Regions from separate parts of the Homo sapiens genome. Here region 2 is linked to region 1. The links are contacts of gene promoters, found by promoter capture Hi-C in human tissues and cell types (Jung and others, 2019). All regions are on one chromosome and are shown on one strand. Each heading gives the region's core, a stretch centred on a gene start or on the middle of the fragment in contact. The rest is flanking DNA. Distances are from core to core; before and after follow the strand shown. Region 1 holds the start of POLD2 (DNA polymerase delta 2, accessory subunit). Region 2 overlaps GCK (glucokinase).

Region 1 (7,300 bases), core at 2,270-4,769:
GTTTGGGGAACAGGTGAGTGGAAAGACCAATTTGGAGAGACAGGCTGAGCTTCAGTGAGGATGCACAGGCCACATGGAGAAGCCACATGTAGGTATTCAGGGTGGGGGCCAGCACCAACCACCAGGCCTGTGAGCGAGTGCTACTGCTGCCCCGCTGCTATCAACACATTCACTGTGGCAGCTGTTTGGTTTCCTGACCAGTCTGTGAGCACAGTGAAATCGCTATCGTCCATCACTGGGGAGCTTTTTTGACAGCTCCAATAACTGGAAGAGAAATGTGCGACCAGAGGAGGTGCTGCCGGAAAGAATCTAGAAGGTGGCATTGACATTGGGCCCAAGTAGTAACTGAGCTCTGAAAGGAGCCAAGGAAGGTGTCCCGAGGGCTGAAAGGAAAGTGAGGAAAAGCTACCGGAGCCGCAGGAGGGAGCCCCTGATTATGTGGGAGAGGAGAGGTGAACAGCACTTTGTCTCAGGTAAACAAAACAGAAAACATCCTGATATGATTTGGCTCTGTGTCCCCACCCACATCTCATCTGGAATTATAATCCACACGGTGTTGACGGAGGGACCTGGTGGGAGGTGACTGGATTGTGGGGGTGGATTTCCCCCATGCTGTTCTTGTGATGGTGAGTGAGATCAAGCCATCATGCGATCTGATGGTTTAAAAATGGTTGGCAGTTCCCCTTGCTCTCTCTCTCCTGCTATCATGTAAAAGAGCCTTGCTTTCCCTTCACCTTCTGCCATGATTGTTAAGTTTCCTGAGGCCTCCCCAGCCATGAGGAACTGTGAGTCAATTAAACCTCTTTTCTTTATAAATTACCCTATCTCAGGTAGTTTTTTATAGCAATGTGAAAATGGACTAATACATATCCCTAATGAATTTGAGGTTCTAGCTAGATTTCTAGGCCCAGGGTTCTCCTGCCTGCCTATAACGAGAATTGATCTTGGCTTGGCATGGGATGAGATGGGCTTCTCAAAGCTCCCCAGGGGATTCCAATGTGCAACTAGGGCTGAGATCCATTTTGCCTGGTGCCAAGGACAGTAAAAATGAGTAAGACCTGGTCTCACCTACTAAATCCTCAGTTTAAAAATATAATAGGAGATGGATTTGAAAATTACCTGGAAAGCCACTCTTATGTAAGTGGTAGGAATGGGGGAATGCAGCAGCACCTAAAACTCAAATAAACTCAAAGGGGGAGATGGGGGTCCCTGCTTCACCACCAAGAGTAATCCAACTGCAGGAGAGATCACCAGGGAAGAAATGGGGGCAAAGAACAAGGGTTGTGTTGGGCAGGCCACTTTATTAGGAAAGACAGAGGGCCCAAGGGACAGGAAAATTCATGGCCAGCAAATATGGGGGCCAGGAGGAGAGGCAAACAGACATGAGTGAACAGAGGGGGTCCCCTCGAGACCAGAGAGTGCATCCTCACCAGTCTTGGCTCCTGGTGCCTGGCGCCAGGCTTGCCACACTGAGGGGCTCTCTGGCTACAGCACAGGCAAATACCTGAATAATCTGCACTGAAGATAGGAAAACCATTTTCCTCTGCCAGTGAAGTAATCGCCATCACCGCCAGAACTAAGTCCTCATCTCCAACCAGCCTCTGAACTAAAACTAACTCCAAACCCACAAATTACTTAATTTAATCCTTGTTACTATCTTAAGAAGAAACTGAGGGAAAAAGAGGTTAATTTTCCCAAGGTAACAGGAAGTGGGATCAATTAGATAAACTGTTCCCATTCTCTTGCAGAACACTTCTAAGTTCAGGGATGCTGTGGGGGAAGCACCTTCCCAAACTCTCACTTACCCCAGTGCTGCTGGGCCCGGTTCTCCAGGAAGGGTCTCATTTGGATGAGGCGGGTGGCATAAATGTGGGCATACTGCCGGCTAAAGCTGCGCTCTCCTAGCCGGAAGGGTTGTGAGGAGTTGGTGTAGGTTGCCACTGGCACCCGGGCAAAGGTGGCATTGTTGGCTGATGGTGGGGACAGTAGAGTGTGGGCCCTCTGGGCAGCCTGCTCAGAAAACATGGCCACACTCCTGACTTGCTTGGTCCACACAGCTTCGCCCAGGCCAAGGAGGTTCACTGCGAAAACACAAAGGCATTCCTGCTGCCCCTGTCCATCCCCCAAAGCAGCAGCTCTCCTGGTGTCTCACTGCACCCAAAGGATACTGGGAAAAGAAGGAGAACAGCTGTAGTTGACACCAGACATTGTGTCCACTTGGAAATTTATCGTGCCTGGATACCGATGTCTCACCCTGTAGCGGTCATCCAAAAAGAGAAAAGGAAAGCTAGGAGTGTTTGTCCCATCTGGAGTTCTTCCCGAACCCTAGACTCAGGTGTCCTGTTCCATCTGGACAACTACCAGGGTCTCAATCAAGTTCAGTTTGCCCCAAATGGAATTCCCGATCTGCCTCCATCCAGCTCTCCGGCACCTGTCTCATTTCCAGACAAGAGGTCTGCCTTATTAAATAAAACTTCTGTGAAATAATAAGCCTATTATTAAATAATAATAGAACTAAACCAAAACCAAAACATAAATCAGTCACTGCTCTGTTCAAAACTCTCCAAAGTGTCCTCATTTCATTGAATAAGGCCCCAAGTCCTTACAACTGCCTATGAGATCTGCTCCACTGGTCCTCTCCCCTCCTGGTTCCCACTCCTCCACCTTGGATCCCTCCCCACAGCAAGGGGCCTCTGAACTCTTGCTTGCCCCTCTCCCGTATACTTATAGAGCTCACTTGCCCATCTCCTTCAAGTTCTTACATCTTTACTCAAATGTTACCTTGTGCCCTGCCCATCTGATTTACAACTGCAACTCTCCCCAGTACTTCAACTGTTATTGTTGTTTACAACATTTACCTTCTAACAAACTGTATATTTTAAATGTATTGTCTGCCTGCTCCAACTAGACCATAAGCTCCAGGAGAGCTGAGATTTTTGTGTCTTATGCCACTAGCCACCTAGGGCTACGAAGTACAGGAGATGTGGTGAGTCCAACTGTGATGTTTGGGTTGGACACACAATGGATTTCTAAGAATAGTACAAAGAATATCCCAATAATTTTTTCACATACAATTGAAATAATAGTTTGAATATATTTATGGATTTACTCCAATTGATTTGTTTCGTTTTACTTTTTTCGTACACCTACTAGAAAGTTAAAAAATTCCCTAGCGGCTTGCAATCTATCTCCACGGGACAGCACTGGCCTGGGACACAGGCTCCGCACACGTGTCTAACGAGTGACTCGTTAGGAGCTTTTGGCTCGAACGTGCTTGATGGCGGCAGCAGCCAGGCCGCGCTACTCGGGATGGGGCCGAGAGCGCCCTGGGGGCTGTCCCAGTCACGGCGGGTGCCCCGGCTCGGATCCACGCGGCAGCTGCGGGACGTCCGCCAAGACACCAGCCCACCGACCCAGGAGCCCGGCCTCGCGGCCTGGAACTGCCACCCCCAGCTGACCCCGTTTCCCTGGACCCCACTCACCGCGCGGCGCGCCGCATCCCGCCAATCCCCGCGCGCCTGCCCCGCCCATCGCCGCAACTCGCTAATCCCCGCGCGGCTTCCCCGCCCATCGCCTAATCTCACCAATCGCTGCCCTCCTCGCCCCGTCCGTCACCAGGCGCCTCATCCCGCCGACCACTGTGCGCCCAGTCCCTGGGACGCCCAGAGAACGCGGAGCCACACCCTCGGTTTCCTGGGCAACGCGGGGCGGGGGCTCGCAGGCCGGCGCCGCGGGTCTTTGGTTGGCGGCCGCGCGTGCAGGGGTTGGGCTGACGGGGGGTGTCGGCCTCCAGTGGGCTGACCGCGTCACCCCGTCAGGCCCTGCCCAAACCTCCCAGTGGTCGTCACCCCGCCAGACCTCCCAGTGGTCGGCCGCCAGCCTCCTTGGTGAAGCCCCCAGCGTCCCAGCTTTCCCCGCAGAGCTGCCCACTTGTAGCGATGGCGACACGCGAGGAGGATCCCAACAGAAAGAAGGCCCAAGGCCCACTAACTTGGCCGGGGAGAAGTAACTCTTCCTGAAGGGATGGCGCGGGGTCTCGGGGTTCCTCCCGTCCTGCCAGCGTCTGCGTCCGGGAAACGCATTGGCGGTTTCGGGGTCCTCCCTAGCTTGCCCACAGCTGCACACCAGCTTCCAGCCCAACACTCCCCAATCTCCAGTGTCCTCGTTGTCCCCGTTACTCATACTCGTTCTTACCACCACGTCTTTCTGAGTGCTGTCTCCCACTTTGGGAATACTTTTTTTTTTTTTTTTCCATCTCCACTAATTTATAGAATTCCTCACCCCATCAAGAGACGCTTCCCCACTAAGCTTCCCGGGCTCTTCCCGCCGCGCGCTGATTCTCCCAGGCGTCCTCTAGCGCTACTGTTCTGCTACTTCCCTGGGCCTGTTTCCTAAGTCCAGGTCTTGTCTCCACAACGAGTGGATATTAACACTCGTTAATTATTACTTAATATTTTAATTTTTGTTTTTGTTTGTTTGTTTGAGGCAGCGTCTTGCTCTGTGGCCCAGGCTGGAGTGCAGTGGTGCGATCTCGGCTCACTGCAGCCTCGAACTCCCAGGCTCCAGTGATTCTCCCGCCTCAGCCTCCCGAGTAGCTGGGACAACAGGCGCGCAGCACCACGCCTGGCTACTTTAAGTTTGTGTGTGTGTGTGTGTGTGTGCGTGTGTGTGTAGAGACAGGGTCTCCCAATGGTGCCCAGGCTAGTGTGGAACTCCTGGGCTCAAGTGATCCTCCCACCTCAGCCTCCCAAAGTGCTGGGATTACAGGCATGAGCCACCACGCCCAGCCTTATATTTTAATTTAAAATGTGATATTTTAATTATTAAACGCCTTTGCAACTGCTTTGAGGTTATGACACATTAATTCATCTGCTCCTCAAATAATCCTTTGGGTCAGACACAGTGGTTCACGCCTGTATCCCAACACTTTGGGAGGCCGAGGTGGGAGGATCGCTTAAGCCCAGGAGGCTGAGGTTGCAGTGACCTAAGATTGCACCACTGCACTTCAGCCTGAGCGACAGAGCCAGACGCTGTCTCAAAGCAAGCAAACAAACAAAAAACCTTTGAAGCATGAACTATTATTTTTCTCCCACTTTACACATGAGGAAATTGAGGCAGGGAGGGCAAGAGAGATCATGTAGCTAGTGAGTAATAGCTGGGATTCACACAGAGACAGCAGGACTCTTGCTGGTAAGGTTGTACTGTTCTGAGCCTTCACCTGAAACATTGTACATGTATTGGGCAAACAAATAATTTTACTTTTTCCTTTCCAATTCAGATGCTTTTTATTTCTTTTTTCTTACCTGATTACTCTGGCTAGAACTTCCCATACTATGTTGAGTAGAAGTGGTGAAAGTGGGCATCTTTGTCTTATTCCGGATCTTAAAGGGGAAGCTTTCAGTCTTTAGCATTAAATATGTTGCTAGCTGTGAGTTTGGGGATTTGGCCTATGGATTTTATTATTTGAGGTAGTTTCCTCCTATTCTTAGTTTGTTGAGCTTTTTCTTCTTTCAAAAGAGTGTTGAATTTTGTCAAATACTTTTTTGACATCAATTGAGATGACCGTGTGGGTTTTTTTTCTGTTAATGTGGTCTATTACATTTATTGATTTTTATGTTGAACCATTCTAGCATTTCAGGAACAAATTCCACTTGGTGGAATTACAAACCAAAGTTACAATAATACTAGCTTTTAATGTATTCTCTTTTATATAATTAATTTTACTTTAATTGCACCTGAATTTTCCTTTAGCATAGACCGTTATTTCTCCCCTCCAAGTACTAACCAGGCCCAACTCTGCTTAGCTTCTGAGATTGGACACATTCAGGGTGGTACGGCCATAGATGAGATCTTTATTCGTTTATTCGGCTTTTTTTTTTGAGACAGGGTATCACTCTGTCACCCAGGCTGGAGTGCGGTGGCACAATCTCGGCTCACTGCAACCTCCGCCTCCTGGGTTCAGGTGATTCTCTTGCCTCAGCCTCCCAAGTAGCTGGGATTACAGGCATGTGCCACCACACCTGGCTAATTTTTGTATTTTTCGTAGAGATGGGGTTCCACCATATTAGCCAGGCTGGTCTCCAACTCCTCAGGTGATCCGCCCATCTCAGCCTCCCAAAGTGCTGAGATTACAGGTGTGAGCCACTATGCCTGGCCTCTTTATTCAGCTTTGAGTCACTGTCTAGTATCCTTTCATTTCATCCTGAAAGGCTTTCTTTGGCTTTCTTTGCAGGGCAGATCTAGTGATAATGAACTCCCTCAGCTTGTGTTTATCTGGGAATGTCTTCATTTTCCCTTATTTTAAAATAATGGTTAAGTGAGATACAGATACAGGATTCTCAGCTGACAGATTTATTTTTTTCTTTTAGCACTTTGAATATATCAATCTACTGCCTTTTGGCCTCTGAGGTTTCTGATGAGATAGCTGATGATCTTTTTTTTCTTTTTCTTTTTCTTTTTTTTTTGAAACAAGGTCACACTCTGTCACCCAGGCTGGAGTGCAGTGGTGGCACGATCTTGGCTTGGTGCACCCTCCGCCTCCCAGGTTCAAGTGATTCTCCTGCTTCAGCCTCCCGAGTAGCTGGGATTACAGGCATGCACCACCATGCCTCACCAATCTTTGTATTTTTAATGGAGATGGGTTTTTGCCATGTTGGCCAGGCTGGTCTCAAACTCCTGACCTCAAGTGATCCACCTGCCTCGGCCTCCCAAAGTGCTAAGATTACAGGTGTGAGCCACCGTGCCCAGCCAAGATATCTGATAATCTTTTTGAAGATCCCTTGTATGTGATGAGTCACTTCTCTCTTGCAGCTTTTGATATTGTCTCCTTGTCTTTGGCTTTCAGCAGTTTGATTATGATGAATCTCAGTATGAGTATCTTTGAGTTTTTCCTACTTGGAGTTTGTCGAGATTTTTGAATGTTCATATTCATGTCATTCATCAAATTTGAGACATTTTCAGCCATTATTTCTCCTAATAATCTCTCTGGTCCTTCACTCTCTTTTCTTTCTGGAATTTCCACAATGGGTATTAGTCTGCTTGATGGTGTCCCGCAGGTCTCTTAGGCTCTGTTTATTTTTCTTCCATCTTTTTCCTTTCTGTTCCTCAAATTTGATAATTTCCCTGTCCAGTCTTCAAATTGCTGATTTTTTAAATAAATTTTATAATTTTTAAATTTTATATAAGTTTTTTTAAAGATAGGGTTTTTCTATGTTGCCCAGGCTGGTTTCAAACTCCTGGGCTCAAGCAATCCTCCTGCCTCAGCCTTCCAAAGTGCTGGATTATGAGCATGAGCCACTGC
Region 2 (7,300 bases), core at 1,782-4,281, 39 kb after region 1:
CAGTGGATTTTCATCTGCAGAGAGGTTCGATTTGCATTTCATACAATCCAGGGGTCTGTATGGAACTTGGGGAAGGGGTGGTGGAGGAAGGTGGCCAACTGATCAAAAACAAACAAAAAACAGGGGTATCATTCTTAATTTTGTGACTGCAAAGTCCAGGCCTCAGGCTTGCTTTGGGTGCCTCCATGGGCATAGACCATGACTTCCAGGCTCTGGCCCAGGCCTCTCCTTGGGCTCACCTGGGAGTGACATCCACATGCTATGTACTTGCTGGCACCTGCCAAAGCCTGCTAAAATTAGCTGGAGCTGGCAAGTGGGTCAGGGTATGGAGGGTGCCTTGTCAGAATGCCAGGTCTCTCGCCAATGGCCAGAGTGATCACTCCCAAGAAAGCCCTTGATACAATTGATCCCTTTCCCAATATAGAGCAGAGATGGCCTCATCAGATCTCATGTGACAGGCCACTGACCCCCACAGCCCCCAGCTCTGAGCTACTGTTTGCTCATGGGGGCAGGGCTCACACCCAGGTTTGGAGTGGCACTGGGGCCTTCTGGTTCAGCCAGGCCAAGAAGCAGCCACCCAGCGAGACTTGCCCTTCTTCTGGGCCAAGCACACAGCACAGGGGAGGAGAATCTAAATTCAGTTCTCAAGAAAGGCTGAGGATGTGTACAAAGCCTGAAGCTGAGGCAAGTGGGCCCCCTTTCTTGGTTGACTGAACTGCCAGTGCCCTCTCTAGCCTCTATTTAGAGCAACAGGCATCCCCTAGAGTTCCTTTCTGGGAGCCACCTGCTGATATTCATTGGCATCCATGAGGCCAGAAAGCGGCCCAACACCCCTACTTCCCCACACCGTCTAATTCTCCGGGACCAGATTCTCATGACTCATGCCAGCCCTCCTGGGCACCCACCCTTGTCCTGTCTCAGTGCCTCTTCTTCAGGATAAGGGGTGACACCAACAGTCTGTACTGCACTGGAGTTGAGAGTCATTGTAGCAGGAACAGTTCCTGCTTTCCAGGAATTTTGGAAGGGCAAGACTGTCCAGAACCTGTCCAGAGAAGAGGGGCCAAGAAGGGGAGGGCCTCAGAGATGATGGCTCATGGAGGATGACCAGGACATGCTTAGAGTCTTCAGTAGCTCAAGGGCTGTCCCGAGGAGGATGGATGAACATTGTTTCTGCTTAGAGCTTTCTAAAAAGACAGAACTGTGCAGCTGTGGGCTAGGATGTCTCAGTAGATAGTGAACTCCCCATTTCATGGGGAGAGAAAGACAAGAGCAGAATCAGAAGGGACCTTGCTCTATGTCCCAGTGGTACCCCCATTTCTTAGTTGCTCAGGGTTCTGATTGACAGACATGACTTGATTTTCTTTTTCATTCATCAAAAGAAAATAATATGACAAGTTTGGTGATGGATATTCAAGATGATTAATTCTACTATCAAAAAACGAGACACAACCCACATACCCAACTACAGGAGGTTGGTTAAATAAATTATGCTACACTTACATGTAGTCATTAAAAATGGTAAGATTCATCTGCTCTATTGGCATGGAAAGATGTTCATGACATACTGTTGAAAGGGAATGTGTAGCCGCCCTTGAAGCTGGCCTTCAATTAGCCCTGCTTCTGGTATTCACCCCATGGTATAGTCTCTTCCATGCAGAATAGGTCTAGCCTGTGTAACTAATATGATAATGCAGAAATGGTGGAGTATGACTTTGGAGCCTAAGCCAGAAAAGACCCTGTGGTTTCTGCCTTGTTCTCTCCTGGACTGTTCCCTCTGGGGGAAGCCAACTGCTATGCTATGAGGTTGCCTACAAGAACTCTGGGAAGATCCATTGAGAAGAAGCGAAGTCTCTTGCCAATACGCAACTCCAACTTGCCAGCCATGTGAGTGGACCACTTTGGAAGCAGCTCCTCTGGCCCCAGTCAAGCCTTCAGGTGATGCAGCCCCAGCCAAAACCCTGACCTCAGGAGAGACACCAAGCCAGACCACCCAGCTAAGCTGCTTCTGAATTCTTGACCTACAGAAACTGTGTGAGATAACAAAGGTTTGTTGTTTCAAGCTACTATGGTTTTTTTTAAAAACACTTTATGAAATAAAATTTTGTTATTACAGAACAAATAAGTTTAGAAACCATTTTCTATCTTTTAGCATATGATCCAGATATAAGACAGTGTCATACCACATTCTTGTCATCATAATACACGGAAAGGTGAAGCCACTAAGTTTTGAGGCAGTTTGTTATACAGCAATAGATGACTAACACAGGGGAAGAACAGGAAACATAGTATGATCCATTTTTGTCGTATATACGATATAGATAATATATGTATTGGGAGGAAATATACCAAAATGGTGACAGTAATTATCTTGATGATGGTGGTATGAGGATTTTAATTTATTTTCCTTTTTGCTTATCTGTATTTCCTACCTTTTCTGCAGTAAATGGGTATTAATGGAGTAATATTTAACAATGAAGTTAAAAAAAGAAAGGTTGAGCCTTATCTGCCATTTTGCACAGAAGCAAGCCTGGAGGCCCAGATTCTAAAGGGTAGAGGTTCACAGTTAAATGAGCCAAGCTGCTAGACCCCATATGCCATTGGGAAAGATATTGGGAGCCAGGAAACCAGGGAACCCAAAGTGTCCGCCCTTCCACCACTGGCCTGTTCCCTGATACCCTCAGTACCAGCTGGGCACCAAGTGTGGGCACGCTGATGCAACAGGGCCTGGAGGTCAGCATGATGTTGCAAGTGTTTGCTTACAGCAGGGTAGACTTGAGACCGGCTGTGCTCTTGTGCTAAGGGGCAGGCTAAGGGCCTGGTGAGTGGGAGGGTGTTAGGCAGTGGCTGATGGCCAGGACATCAGGGAAAGAGGCAAGGGGAGAGCCGAGAGACAGCAGAGCATGCCAGGATCAAATGACCACAACTAGTGTGTGCCCTGTGGCTTCCACATGCCAGGGGATGTGCTAGACCCTTTAGATGGATTGAAACTGGCCGATGAGCTGAAGGCTGTCATTTTATATGCAGGGAAACTGAAGCCTATGGGAGTTAAGGGATTTACTAGGATGCAACAGCTATGAGTGACTTGGCTAAGATTCACCCATGGGTCACTCTGACTCCAGGATTGTTAACAGTTTGGTCTTCTTGACTAGATGGGGAGGGCTTCAGGGTCAAGCATATGCTGGGGGACAGGAAATATCCTTTGGGGCTTCTTCCATGCTGGAGATGTTCAGAGGCTTCAGCTGAAGCTGGTGGAGGTGGACACAGTGGTATCCACAGAGGTCAGTTTTGCCCCAGTGTTTGCCTCTGTCAACAGATGGAATGGAGCCTGGGGCTGGGTGTCAGGGATAAAGCCTAAGGCCAGCACTGTTGGGGTTGAAGAGCAGAGCATGAGTAAGGGTGCAGGGAGCAGCCCTGTGCATTGCCTAGGGAGGGGTTAGGAGAATCATCCAAGACTCTGTGCTGAGAGGCAGGATAACACTGGGGTAACACAGAACTGTAGGATCTCCAGCCTGAGTCTGGAGACTGGCTTTGCCACTCACTGGCTCTAGGGCCTCGGGCAAATTCCTTAATGTTTCTAGGCCTCAGTAAGGGGCAGGCAACAATTCTACTACCTCACAGGGCTGTTGAGAGGATTCAATGGGATAATGCAGGTAAGGCTCTTGGCACATACAAGTTGTTCAATAGTTTGTAGCTGTTGTTGCTACCAAAGGATATTTTAGCCCTTGGGTCAGAGTTTAAGACATGGGCTGTCCCCAGCTCTTGATTTACGGCAGATCTAATGCCAAACTCCTACCCCAATGCATACTGATTATTTCTGTGTTTTAAGGAGACAGACTAGGTGGCATAGACTCTTTGATGCTAGTCCTACAGTAAATCAATGAAGCTTTTTGTCTGAAAAGAGTTACTAGGGAATGATCCTCATGAAGCTGGCAACGTAGGAAACTTCAGGAATTGGTTCCTCTATCTAAACAACCAGCAAGTTAGAAAAGAAAAAAATCCTGTAAGAGTCAACTCTTTCAGAATTCTGGAACCTGATTGGACACTTACAGCAACCATGGGAGTGCTCGATGAAGGGAGAGGCATGCTGATGGCTCATAAGTGAGTGGTGTGGGCAAACCAGCTACCATCCTGCATTCTTCAACATTCCTGTGGCCATGTGGACAGTAATTGTGTTCCTAGAGCAGCTGGCTGGAGCAGGAGTGGGCAGAAAGGACCTTGTCTTCCAGAAATTTGGAGAATCAAATTTCTTTTGTTTATCTGGTGGTTCCCTGAGGGCTCAGAGTAGAGCTTGCCTTTGTTTCTGCCCCTTCAGGCAGCAGCAGCCTTCCAGGTGGCATCTATCAGAAGATTTTTAAAAAGGTACATACATGCTAGGTTTTTTGTTTCTTGGGTTTTAAAAAAATCTATGCATTTAAGGAATGCTCTTCCAGGTCATAGGCTGACTGCAGAGGCACCAGAACAGAAACGTCAGTGACCAGACACAAGAGAGAATACATACTTTGCAAAAATCGTTTGGAAAAGTCACTATACAAATGGACAACTGCAGCCCTCAACAAACAACAAAACCAATCTCAAAGGAGGGGGAGAATCTGGCTTCAGAATTACCACATTTTACTACTCAAAATGTTAAGTTTTCAACAAAGTATTACAAAGCAAATAAAGAGGAAGATATGACTCTCTAACAGGACAAAAATAATTTAAAAGAAGCTATCCATAAGGAATTTTAGACATTGGAATTACTAGTCAAAGACATTAAGTCAACTGTCTTAAATATGCTTAATTAACTAAAGAAAACCATGGACAAAGAACTACAGGAAATTGGGAGAGCAATGTATGAACAGATGGGGAATGACAATAAAAAGAATTTATTAAAGAGGAACCAAATAGAAATTCTGGATCTGAAAAGTACAATACTGAAATGAAAAAGTCACTGGAGGGGTTAAATGGCCAATTTGAGCAGGCAGAAGAAATAATCATTGAACTTGAAGAAAAGGCGATTGAAGTTATCCAGTCTGCAGAGCAGAAAAAAAGAAAGAAGAAAAATGAACAGAACCTGAGGGACCAGTAGGATACCATCAGTCATGCCAACTAAGTATACGGGAGCTCCAGAAGAAGAGAGATGGAAAGGGGAAGAAAAAGATATTTGAGAAATGGTGAAATAATTTCCCAGATTTGGTGAAAGACAAACGTACACATCCAAGAAGCTCAATGAAATCCAAGTGGGATAAACTCTAAGAAATTCACACTGAAACACATTATAGTCAAATTGTCAAAAGACAAAGACAGAGAGAGAATCTTGGAAGCAGCAAGAGAGAAATGACACATAGCATACATACCAAGGATTTGCAATAAGTTTAACAGATGATTTCTCATTAGAAACCAAGGAGGCCAAATGGCAGCTGTAATAATAATTACACTTTAGACCAGGCATGGTGGCTCATGCCTCTAATCCCAGCACTTTGGGAGGCCAAGGTGGGTGTATCACTTGAGGTCAGGAGTTCAAGATCAGCCTGACCAACATGGTGAAACCCCGTCTCTACTAAAAATACAAAAATTAGCTGGGCATGGTGGCGGGCACCTGTAATCCCAGCTAACTCGGGAGGCTGAGGCAGGAGAATTGCTTGAACCTGGGAGGCGGAGGTTGCAGTGAGCAGAGATTGCGCCACTGCACTCCAGCCTGAGTGACAGAGGGAGACTCCATCTCAAAATAATAATAATAATAATAATAACACTTTAATAATAATTGAAGTGCTGGGAAAAAAACTATTAACTAAGAATCTTATAGCCAGCAAAACTATTCTTCAAGAATAAAAAAGAAATTAGACATTTCAGATAAAGAAAACCAAAGGGAATTAATTACCGGCAGGCCTGCCCTATAGGAAATGCTAAAGGGAAACATTGAGGCTAAAATGAAAAGACACTAAGTAGTAATTCAAAGACATCTGAAGACATAAAAATACACTGTTAAATGTCACTATATAGGTAAATATAACAGCAAATATTAATGTAGTTTTTCTTTGTGATTCTTGTTTTCCTGTATGATTTAAAAGGCAAATGCAGAAAATAATAATAAGTTTATGTTAGTGAGGATATAATGTATAAAAACATAATTTGTGGGAATAACAATATAAAGGAAGAAGGATGGAGATATATAGGAGTAGAGTGTTCATGTACTATTGGAACTATTATTCAAACTAGCTTCTTATAAGTGTAAGATGTTAATTGCCATCCTCAAGGCAATCATTAGGAAAATAACTAAAAAATATGAGAAAAGGAAAGTGACACAGGATTTTTTCCTTGGTCACTTTGCAAGCCAGGGACCTTGGTGATGCCCTGCCCAGGCCTCACTTGGCCATGCTACCTGCTGTGGGAGATGGCCCACTAACCCGTGCTGCCCAGACCAAGTCTGGCTTGTGCACTGGTTCCCGAGTTCTTGTACCACACCCAAGAAAAATGAGGATACGCTGACAATCAAAGAGGGAGCAAGGTGAGAGTTTCATTGAGTGATGAAAACAGCTTTCAGCAGAGAAGGGATACAGAGGTGGTCCCCCTACCTGAAGTTGGCAAAGTGCCCCCAATGTGGCTGATTCCAGGGCTTTTATGGGCTCAGAATGGGGGAGGGGCAGGCCATAGGTAGTATTGGAAAAGGCAACATTCGATTGGTTAAAAGGGATTATTTAGAGGGCAGGCAAACAGGAATGGAAGTTCTCACTCTGGATCATGGGTTTCATCTGGGACCAGCAGTCCGGTCTTTCAGCCTTCAGGCTATTTTTTGGCTTGAAGGTGGGGTTTCATGGGGGACAAGCTTCTATCTGCCAGGCATTTGGCTGCCTCCTGCCGCTATCAAAAGGAGAAAATAATCAAAATGTAACAACACAGACACAAAATCAAGAAGTAAAAAAAAAAATCCAGTAATGGAGGAATTGAGAAACTTAAAAATGTATAAGACACACAGAAAAAAAATAGCTGAGTGGTAGAAGTAAGTCCTTCCTAATCAGTAATTATTTTATATATAAATAGATTAAACTCCAGTTAAAAGGCAGATATTGGCAGAGTGAATAAAGAGAACATTATCCACCTATATGCTATCTACAAGAGGCTCACTTTAGATATAAAGATAGAAGAATTTTAAAGTAGAAGGATGGAAGAAGATATTCTATGAAAATAACAACCAATATGAGAGTTGTGGTGGCTGTATTATCAGCCCAAATAGATTTTAAGTTAAAAAAAAAAGTCTCAAGAGACAAAGAACATTATATGTTGATAAAAGTTTTCATCCATTAAGAAGATATAAAAATTA

What was found. Contacts are between HindIII fragments. The study calls those that stand out against the background at their distance.
Region 2: a contact is called between a fragment that was not itself captured here and the fragment with the promoter of POLD2 in region 1, in 1 of the 25 tissues and cell types used here (mesenchymal stem cells).

The regions. Positions count from the first base shown.
Region 1 is chr7:44,120,029-44,127,328 of GRCh38, forward strand. It overlaps POLD2 (DNA polymerase delta 2, accessory subunit), which reads right to left and starts at 3,520. Exons shown (of 11, transcript NM_006230.4): 1 at 3,483-3,520; 2 at 1,806-2,081. The coding sequence starts at 2,025. It also overlaps the pseudogene RNA5SP230. RefSeq lists a silencer at 3,206-3,915 and enhancers at 3,702-4,606, 4,126-4,185. The HindIII fragment of the contact is 6,473 bases long and covers 1-4,851 here.
Region 2 is chr7:44,159,640-44,166,939 of GRCh38, forward strand. All of the region lies in intron 1 of GCK (glucokinase), which reads right to left. Among named protein-coding and RNA genes, the nearest start is that of MYL7, 22 kb to the left of the region's middle. The HindIII fragment of the contact is 4,625 bases long and covers 720-5,344 here.